2 separate regions of the Homo sapiens genome follow, and region 2 is linked to region 1. Evidence: promoter capture Hi-C in human tissues and cell types (Jung and others, 2019). All regions are on one chromosome and are shown on one strand. Each heading gives the region's core, a stretch centred on a gene start or on the middle of the fragment in contact. The rest is flanking DNA. Distances are from core to core; before and after follow the strand shown.

What was found. Contacts are between HindIII fragments. The study calls those that stand out against the background at their distance.
Region 2: a fragment that was not itself captured here is called in contact with the fragment with the promoter of CWF19L1 in region 1 in 3 of the 25 tissues and cell types used here (hippocampus, lymphoblastoid cells and thymus).

Annotation. Positions count from the first base shown.
Region 1 is chr10:100,264,381-100,269,591 of GRCh38, reverse strand. It overlaps CWF19L1 (CWF19 like cell cycle control factor 1), which reads left to right and starts at 1,954. Exons shown (of 14, transcript NM_018294.6): 1 at 1,954-2,021. The coding sequence starts at 1,999. RefSeq lists an enhancer at 3,974-4,223. The HindIII fragment of the contact is 27,589 bases long and covers 1-5,211 here.
Region 2 is chr10:100,428,322-100,433,703 of GRCh38, reverse strand. No RefSeq gene overlaps it. Among named protein-coding and RNA genes, the nearest start is that of WNT8B, 32 kb to the left of the region's middle. The HindIII fragment of the contact is 6,021 bases long and covers 797-5,382 here.

The sequences.
Region 1 (5,211 bases), core at 705-3,204:
TTCAGTCTTGAGTGCTACTCCTGGGCAGTGCTGTATTATCCAAAGAGTAGGAAAAAATGCATGCTTATGTGCCAGCAAAGCAGAGCCACCAGTTATGAGGCAAGAAACAAACAAAAAAGAAGGCTTGTAGGCTGTGGGAAAAGCCAGAACTTTGTAGTTTTGTTTGGTTATTGAGACAGGGCTTGCTGTGTCACCCAGGCTGGAGTGCAGTGGCAAGGTAATAGCTCGCTGAAGCCTCCATCTCCTGGGCTCAAGTGATCTCCCCACCTCAGCCTCTGGAGTACCTGGGAGTACAGGCATACGGCCACCATGCCCAGCTAACTTTTTTTTTTTTCTTTTTAAATTTGTAGTAGAGACGAGGTCTGGCTATGTTGCCCAGGTTGGCCTTGAACTCCTGTTCTCAAGTGAACCTCCCGCCTCAGCCTCCCAAAGTGCTGGGATTACAGGCATGAGCCACTGTGCCTGGCCTGTAGTTCTTCTTTAATCTTATGTTTTATTAATTTTGAATTATTTAGATGCCCTTGATGAGTCTTCCTTTCCCCGCAGTCGTCAGGAACTCTCTCTTGTTTCCATTTCCTTACACACTTGTTTCCTACCACTTGGCCTGAACCCTTCAAAAAAGTCAATATTACAAAAACTAAAACCAAATAGGTAGGAGGGCTTTTGTAGATTAAAATAGAGACAGAACCAAATGCAAGTGTGAAACTTGATTGCATCTGAATCAAAACAAGCCCCAAATATAAAATCAGTTTGTAGGGAAATATGGAGAACTTTAAATATGGATGTATATTAGGTAATATTATTGAATAATTAATGTTAATTTTCTTAGCTGTGTTAATAGTATTACGGTTATGTAGGAGGATATCCTAATCTTAGGAGATAAATGGAGATGTATTCCTGTTGTCCGCACTTTATTTTATTTTATTTTTTGACACGGAGTCTCGCTCTGTCGCCCAGGCTGGAGTGAAGTGGCGCGATCTCGGCTCACTGCAACTTCCTCCTCCTGGGTTCAAGCGATTCCCCTGCCTCAGCCTCCCGAGTAACTGGGACTGCAGGTGCGTGCCACCACGCCCGGCTAATTTTTTGTATTTTTAGTAGAGAGGGGGTTTCACCGTGTTAGCCAGGATGGTCTGGATCTCCCAAAGTGCTGGGATTACAGGCGTGAGCCACTGCGCCCGGCCTGTACTTTACTTTCAAATGATTGAGTGAGAATGGAAGGGCTTGGGCACTTTGAGAGAAAGAGAACACAAGCAAATTTGCCAACATGCTGAGACTTACTGAATCAAGGTAATAGCCATTATTCTTTTAACTTTTTTTTTTTTAATTTGAGACGGAGTTTCGCTCTTGTTGTCCAGGCTGGAGTGCAATGGCGCGATCTTGACTCACTGCAACCCCCGCCTCCCTGGTTGAAGCAATTCTCCACCATGCCCGGCTAATTTTTGTATTTTTAGAAGAGACGGGGTTTCACCATGTTGCCCAGGCTGGTCTTGAACGCCCGACCTCAAGTGATCCGCCCGCCTCAGCCTTCCAAAGTGCTGGGATTATAGGCGTGAGCGTCCACGCCCGGCCTCTTAACTTTTTGATAGGTTAAAAACTTACAAAAAACGTGGATAGAGGGGGTCTGTCTTGCCCACTAGACCGATATGGTTAGGTTAGGTTAGGTTAGGTTAGGTTAGGTTAGAACCCGACATTGTGCTCTGTACTTCCTAGCCATTCATTCGCTTCAAGTGCTCTGAAATTTAATTTAAAAAATCATAGTTGGAATCCTTTCGGTCACTTTCTCTTTCTCCCTTCGTTCCTCCCTTTCCCTCTTGATTCTTCCTTGAGGCGCAAACACCTGAGAGAGGCTTCTGTCCCTCGGCGGTCTCCGTAAGTAAGTGAACCGTTATTGGCTGGAGGGCGCTGACGTCTGATTGTTGCGCGGTCGCATTTTTCCGGGGAGCGCGGATTCGCATTCCCAATTTTAGGTGGCAGTCGCAACCCATACTATTCGGACAGATGGCACAGAAACCGCTGCGCCTGTGAGTGACCGTGAATGGAAGCCTCTCTCCCTGTGTCTCTTTCGTGTGTGTAGGTGACGACACGGGCGGGAGTCTTTCCCATGACGGGAAGGGAGAAGGAAAAGGCGGAGAGACACGGGGCTGCTGGGGAGCTTAGGTGATGTCTTTGCCTGGCCGGGGCTGACCTCTTTTCCTGGCCCTTTTCGCTTCTGAGGGGGTTTCTCTTGGCGACGCTCGTTCGGAGAGGCGGAAGCTCCCAGAGTTAGGCCTCCTCCATCTTAGGGGGCAGTCCTGGCCTCTGACACATCCTTTCCCCTTCGTTTCTCCTGACCCCATTTATTTACTCGCCAAATAGCCATTGGGCCCACTGATGGGCCCTGGGCAGTGGTGGACAGAGTAGATAGGGACCCTTCCCTGGGGCATTTTTTTTTTTTTTTTTTTTTTGCGAGGAGGAGGGGTGGGGGTGGTGGTGAAGAGAGGGCTTCATGCAGCAAGTATTTATTGAAGAACTGCAGTGTGCCGGACGCTGTGCTAGGTGTTGCAACAGATGGAGTTCCTGCTTTAATGGAGCGTAGAGTCTAGAGGAACAGGTACTAAAGAATCCAGATAATGGGCCGGGCGCGGTGGCTGAGGCAGGAGAATCGCTTGAACCCGGGAGGCGGAGGTTGCTGTGAGCCGAGATCGCGCCACTGCACTCCAGCCTGGGCGACAGAACGAGACTCTCAAAACAAAACAAAACAAAACAAAACAAACAAAAAACAATACAAATAATGGCCGGGCGCGGTGGCTCACGCCTGTAATCCTAGCACTTTGGGAGGCTGAGGCGGGCGGATCACTTGCGGTCAGGAGTTCGAGACCAGCCTGGCCAACGTGGTGACACCCCGTCTCTACTAATACAAAAAAAAAAAATTAGCCAGGCGTGGTGGCGCGTGCCTGTAATCCCAGCTACTTGGGAGGCTGAGGCAGGAGAATCGCTTGAACCCGGAGGCGGAGGTTGCACAGTGAGCCGACACTGCACCTCTGCACTCCAGCCTAGGTAACAGAGTGAGACTCCGTCTAAAAAAAAAGGAATTCAGATAAATGTAAAGTTACCATAGTGATAGGGCCAGGCGCAGTGGCTCACGCCTATAATCCCAGCGACTCCGGAGGCCAAGGCAAGAGAATCACTTGAGTCCAGGAATTCAAGACCAGCCTGGGCAATATAGCAAGGCCCCGTTTCTACAAAAAATACAGAAAAAAAAAAAAATTAGCCGGGCGTGGTGGTCCCAGCTAATTGGGAGGCTGAAGCAGGTGGACCACCTGAGCCTGGGGAGGTCGATGCTGCAGTGAGCTGTGATCGTGCTGCTGATCTCCAGGCTGGGTGACAGATTGAAACCCTGTCTCAAAAAAAAAAAAAAAAAAATTGCAATAGTGGTAACTTTTGGGAAGAAAATATTCGTGAATCTGGGAGAGTGCATAAGAGGGGTATTTGGCTTAATGATAGGAGTCAAGAAGGCTTCCCGAGAATGTTAGGATTGAGCCTTGGGAAATAAGAGTAATCCATTGCTTAACAGCAGGGTTATGTTCTGAGAAATGAGTTGGTAGGCGATTTCGTCATTGTGCGAACATCTTTGAGTGTACTTCCAGAGACCTAGATGGTATGGCTTCCTGTACACCTAGGCTAAATGGTATAGCTGTACGTCAAGTTACTGTACTGAATACTGTAGGCAATTGTAACACAATGGTAAGCATTTTTGTATTTAAATATAGAAAGGGTACAGTGAAAACACCTGGCCGGGTGTGGTGGCTTATGCCTGTAATCCCAACACTTTGGGAGGCCGAGGTGGGTGGATCACCTGAGGTCAGAAGTTCAAGACCAGCCTGGCCAACATGGTGAAACCCTGTGTCTACTAAACATACAAAAATTAGCCGGGTGTGGTAGCGGGCGCCTGTAATCCCAGCTACTCAAGAGGTTGAGGCAGGAGAATGGCTTGAGCCTGGGAGGCAGAGGTTGCAGTGAGCCGAGATCGCACCACTGCACTCCAGCCTGGGCGACAGAGCGAGACTGTCTCAAAAAAAAAAAAAAAGAAAAAGAAAAAAAGAAAATACTGTATACAGGAAAAAAAAAAAGGGCACAACCTGTGTAGGACACTTATCATGAATGGAGTTTGCAGAACTGAAAGTTTCTCTGAGTGAGTTAGTAAGAGGTGAGTGAATGTATTACTTTACAGTATTGTAGACTTTATGAATACTGTACACTTCACCTATATTAAATTTATTAAAATATTATTTTCAACAGTAAACCTTAGTTTACTGTAACTTTTACTTTATAAACTTTAAGTTTTTTTACACTTTTTGACTCTTGTTATAACACAGCTAAGACATAAAACACATTGTACAGCTGTACAAAAATATTTTCTTTATATCCTTATTCTACAAGCTTTTTTCTATTACTTTTTTTTTCTTTTTACCTTTTAAACTTTTTTTTTTTTTGGAGACAGGGTCTCACTGTCGCCCAGGCTGGAGTGCAATTGTGCAATCACGGCTCACTGCAACCTCAACCTCCTGGGCTCAAGTGATTCTCCCACTTCAGCCTCCTGAGTAGCTGGGACTACAGGCGGAAGCTACCACACCTGGCTAATTTCTGTATTTTTTGTAGAGAGGGGGTTTTGCTATGTTACCCAGGCTGGTCTTGAACTCCTGGGCTCAAGTTACCCTCCTGCCTCAGCCTCCCAAAGTGCTGGGATTACAGACGTGAGCCACTGTGCCTGGCTTTAAACTTGTTTTGTTGCAAACTAAGACACACACACGAGTCTAGGCCTACACAGGGTCAGGATCATCAGTATCACTGCTGTTCACCTCCATATCTTGTCCCACTGGAAGGGCTTCAGTAGTAATAACATGCATGAAGCTGTCATCTCCTATGATAACAGTGCCCTCTGGAATACTTCCTGAAGGACCTGCCTGAGGCTTTTTTACAGTCAACTTTTTTTTTTTTTTTTTGAATACGTAGGAGTGTACTCTAAACAGTAAAGAGCATACCATACTGAATATATTTTTTTTTTTTTGAGATGGAGTCTTGCTCTGTTGCCCAGGCTGGAGTGCAGTGCCGCGATCTCAGCTCACTGCAAGCTCTGCCTCGTGGGTTCATGCTATTCTCCCGCCTCAGCCTCCTGAGTAGCTGGGACTACAGGCGCCCGCCACCACGCCCGGCTAATTTTTTGTATTTTTA
Region 2 (5,382 bases), core at 2,558-5,057, 160 kb before region 1:
GACAGTCTTGGTCAGGGTAAAACTATGGCGGTCTCCAAGTCACTGTGTGACTTGATAAACACACGTCTATCTGGGGTACAAGGCACTGTCAGATATCTCTTGGAAAGTGTTCTGTTTTATATGGTACCCATGAGTCTGGCATTAATCAATAGATCTGATCTCTTTAATAAGGATATTTATACCCAATGACACATCGGTTTATGTTGGTGGAGCAGGGTTGGATCGCTGTAGTAGTGTTCTGAGTATGCACCTTTGGATTTGTTCCCACCTGGTGAAGTCTCTCTCTCTGTCTCTCTCTCTCTCACACACACACACAAGCATTCACACACAGGCTCTTCTGATATTTGTAACTAGACACATCTTTTTCAATGGCATGTTTGATGATCCAGCCAAATTAATATGGCTAGAAAAAAAAAGATATATTTACACAAATTTACCAATCTATCTGGTTGCCTGGTTGCTTTCCCTTCATATTAATAGCTGCCCTCAGGCTCCAGATGAAACAAGAATGTACACCTTGGTAGATTTGTGTAAGATTTCCTGGCAGATGATTGTGTGGCTTTCTTTTCTTTTCTTTTTTTTTTTTGAGACAGAATTTCACTCTTGTCACCCAGGCTGGAGTTCAATGATGCGATCTTGGCTCACGGCAACCCCGACTCCCGGGTTCAAGTTCAAGTGATTCTCCTGTCTCAGCCCCCCAAGTAGCTGAGATTACAGGTGCCTGCCACCACACTCGGCTAATTTTTGTATTTTTTAGTAGAGACGGGGGTTTCACCATGTTGGCCAGGCTGGTCTTGAACTCCTGGCCTCAGATAATCCACCCCCTTCAGCCTCCCAAAGTGTTGGGATTACAGGCGTGAGCCACTGCGCCTGGCCTATTTCTCTACTTTGACTCTTCTAGCTGCTTGGTTTTCTGAACTCCTGAGTTACACTGGCAGCCAGAGCCCTGTGGTTTACTGTTAATGTTTTTCTTGTTGTCTTGTTTTTTCTGATATGTTTGCTATCTCCCTAACTAGACTGTGAGCTCTTTGACTGCAAGCTCTAAGCCCAGATCACACCTATCCCTTGAACACTCACCACACACATTGTTGGGTGTGTGTTATGTCCTCAATACAAATGTTTAGGTTGTTAGTTTGAATAATGAGGAAAGGTGTTTTAAAAGACTGAGAAGCGGGCTGGGTGCGGTGGCTCACACCTATAATCCCAGCACTTTGGGAAGCCAAGGCAGGAGGACTGCTTGAGTCTAGGAGTTCAGACCAGCCTGGGCAACATAGGGAGACCCCTGTCTCTTTAAAATAATAATTAATAAACAAAAGAGTGAGAAGTAAAGGAGAACCAGGAGAGAGAAAGGAATAAAACATAACGTTTCTAAAAGATTGACTTAAATGACCAATGAAAGGAAGTAACTGATAAAAGACAAAAGAGAGTGACATGAAAGGAGGATATTAGGGTTCTAGCTTTTTCACAAAATGGAAATGCTATTGTGGGCAATGATAATTTCTGAGGAGATGTTCATGGTCAAAGAAATAAGATTTCCCCCTTGGGAGACTGAGGTAGGTGGATCACCTGAGGTCAGGAGTTCAAGACCAGCCTGGTCAACATGGTGAAACCCCGTCTCTACTAAAAATAAAAAATAAAAAAAATTATCCGGGTGTGGTGGCTCACATCTGTAGTCCCAGCTACTCAGGAGGCTGAGGCAGGAGATTCATTTGAGCCCAGGAGGTGAGCTGAGATTGCGCCACTGCACTCCAACCTGGGCGACAGAGCCAGACTATGTCTCAAAAATAAATACACAGGCCGGGCATGGTGGCTCACTCCTGTAATCCCAGCACTTTGGGAGGCCGGGTGGGGGGGGGGGGGGCGGGTGCGGATCACAAGGTCGGAAGTTCAAGACCAGCCTGGCCAATATGGTGAAACCCCGTCTCTACTAAAAATACAAAATCAGCTGGGCGTGGTGGCGGGCACCTATAGTCCCAGCTACTCGGGAGGCTGAGGCAGGAGAATTACTTGAACCCAGGAGGCAGAGGTCAGTGAGCCGAGATTACGCCACTGCACTCCAGCATGGGCGACAGGGTGAGACTCCATCTCAAAAAAATAAAATAAAATAAAATATAAATAAATACATAAAATAAAATACGATTTCCTTACCAATTTAAGGAAAATGAGTGGAATGTGAGGTACTCTGTGAAAGAAAGTTGTAATTTTGGAATAAGTTCAAAAGAATGAATGAGTACACAGATTTAGTATATAGGCCAAGCTTAAAACTCTCCCTGAATGTGACAATCAAATATTGCATAACCAAACTCTTTTAAATCTTCTTTTATTGCTCTGTAGAGTTGAACCAGTTTATGTATCCACTAAAATCTCAAGGAATTGTTCTTTAGCTTTAGATTCTCAGGTACAATGAATAGAAGAGGACTTCCTGCTATTATTTATTAATTTTATTTTACTTTATTTTATTTTTTGAGACACAGTCTCATTCTGTCACCCAGGCTGGAGTGCAATGGTGCAGTCTCTGCTCACTGCAGCCCCCATGTCTTGGGCTCAAGTGATCCTTCCATCTCAGCCTCCCGAGTAGCTGGGACTACAGACACTCACAACTACGCCCTACTAATTTTGTTTATTTTTTGTAGAGATAATGTCTCACTATGTTGCCCAGGCTGATCTCAAACTCCTGGACTCAAGCTATTCCCCTACCTCAGCCTCCCAAAGTACTGGGATTACAGATGTGAGCCACCATGCCTGGCTATTTCTTATTTTTAATTTGCTTTTTAATTGCACATATATTCGATAGAATACATCTAGAGTGTTTTAAAACAAAAGTCACAATCTTAGCTCACTCAAGTCTGTTTCATATTTAAACAATTGTTTTTCTATCTCTGAAGTGATTGTTTTGGTAGAAGCATTTCATATTGTTTGAGGGAGCAATAATCCATTGATTATAGCAGTATACATATGAAATGGCTGGGATTTAGAAGCAATATTGTCATGGTTGTAAAGAAAAATAAGTCTAAAAACTGTAAAATCTTGGAACAGAGTATACTGGTTAATTGAGCTTCTGATTAAGTATGGGTTAATGAGAGACACTTTTTGTTTGAAATCTCTCTAAATTGCCTCAGTCCATTTTCGTGCTTTAATAAGTAGTCTCATGAACATAACTGAATATTCTCTTAACTGATTCAGCACCCTGTAATGCCTCAGGACCATTACTCTGAACATCATATATAACTCTATAAAGTACTACAGCCACAGAAGGTATAGGAGTTTAGGATGACTCATTAGACATGTCTTTACTTTAAAAAATAAATCCCTGTAATCTGTGCATTTCATTGTATGTAAATTTATGTTAATTTAGTAAATGCCTGTTACATATCATAGAATAATAAACTGCTCAATCATTTAATCCATAGAGACTTTTGAGATTATGAAATTCAATGTCATTATTTAACAGATGAGAAAACTAAGAATAAGAAAATAACAAGAAGGATTAATACAACTAGGGCTACCATCAATGTCTCCTGATTGCAAATCAGGTGGCCTTTTACACCATGCTGCAACTTTCAAATGATTTGGAGTTCCTGTCATTTCTCTCCCTTCCCCCATACAAGTGGAGTTCATTTTCAAAATTAATTATTTGAGATTTTTGGATAAATGAACATAAGCTCCACTAAAATATCAGCTCCGCTGAAGCAAGGATTTGTCTGTTTTGTTCACTGATGTAGTCTCAGCATCTAGAATAGTGCCTGCCCCTTAGAAAGCCCTCAATAAATGTACGTTGAATGAAAGAATGAAATAAAGATTGAATATCTATTACACACAAGATAACTTGATTTTGAGCTCATAGGTTGAATATAGCTCTATATTAATCTGTTTAACAGTCATTAGGATTCACAGTATACAGATTACAAGCTAAAATCATTATAGTCAAAACTTTGAGTATACAATGAGCAAATGAAGAAGAAATATTAAATAATTGTTGTGGTAAAACATTTTGAGCTTTTGTTTTTGGTTCTCTTCTGTTTTGTGTACCTCAGTTTCAAACACCAAGTGTTGGAAGTTAGAAGCCCAGATATTGTTAAACTTTAAGAATATTATTTGGATAGTCAAATGAGTCATCAAAATAGAAAATGTCAAAACTCAGCTTTGCAAAGCTGTTTTAAAATATAAATTCTAGGCTGGGCGTGGTGGTTTACGCCTGTAATCCCAGCACTTTTGGAGGCCGAGGCGGGCAGATCAAGAGGTTAGGAGTTTGAGACCAGACTGACCAACATGGTGAAACACCGTCTCTACTAAAAATACAAAAATTAGCCAGGTGTGGTGGCGCTCGCCTGTAATCCCAGCTACTCAGTAGGCTGAGGCAGGAGAATTGCTTGAACCCAGGAGGCAGAGGTTGCAGTGAGCCGAGATCACACCACTGCACTCCAGCCTGGCAACAGAGCGAGACTGTCTTAAAAAAAAAAAAAAAAAAAAAATCTGAATAATTGTCAAACACATCTCTTTAAATAAGGCAAACAAGGCTTTAAACTTTAAAACTAGGGAGAACAAAATATTCTTGGACACTACGCCCTATGCTTCTTATCACATATGTGCTTTGACTCAGAATTGACGAGTCTGCCAAAGCATCTGCTAAGTCCTTCCGTATGAAGAAATACCTCAAAAACAAACCCAAGGATGAATGAAATGCAAAAGCCCTTTACCTAAGAACCACTTTAGGGTCAGTCGTGGTGGCTCATGCCTGTAATCCCAGCACTTTGGGAGGCTGAGGCGGGCAGATCACTTGAGGTCAGGAGTTCGAGACCAGCCTGGCCAACATAGTGAAACCCCGTCTCTACTAAAAATACAAAAAAAAAAAAAAAATTAGCCGGGCATGGTGATGGGTGCCTAAAATCTCAGCTACCGGGGAGGCTGAGACAGGAGAATCGCTTGAACCCGGGAGGTAGAGGTTGCAGTGAGCCGAGATCGCGCCACTACACTCCAGTCTAGGCAATAGAGCCAGACTCTGTCTCAAATAAAAAAAAAAAAAAAGAAGAAGAAAAAAGAACCAGTTTAAAATTTAACAGTGTACGAATGTAAGGTTGTATGGCCACACAGGAGTATTTGGACTCAGAGTCATGGTTTCAATAACAGCAAATCAGAAGATGGTATTTATCTTACAATGCACAAAAATAAATAAATAAATAAAATTTTTAAAATTGCGTCTTGGGAGGCCAAGGCAGGAGAATCACTTGAGCCCAGGAGTTTGTGACCAGCCTGGGCAACATAGCAAGACCCTGTCTTTATTTAAAATTTTTTAAAAAGTGGTATTTATCTATGAAAATGGACCCATCTGTTATTCCCTTTATATTCCAGAAAATGTTTTAGGTCTCCAGAATTCCTTGAATT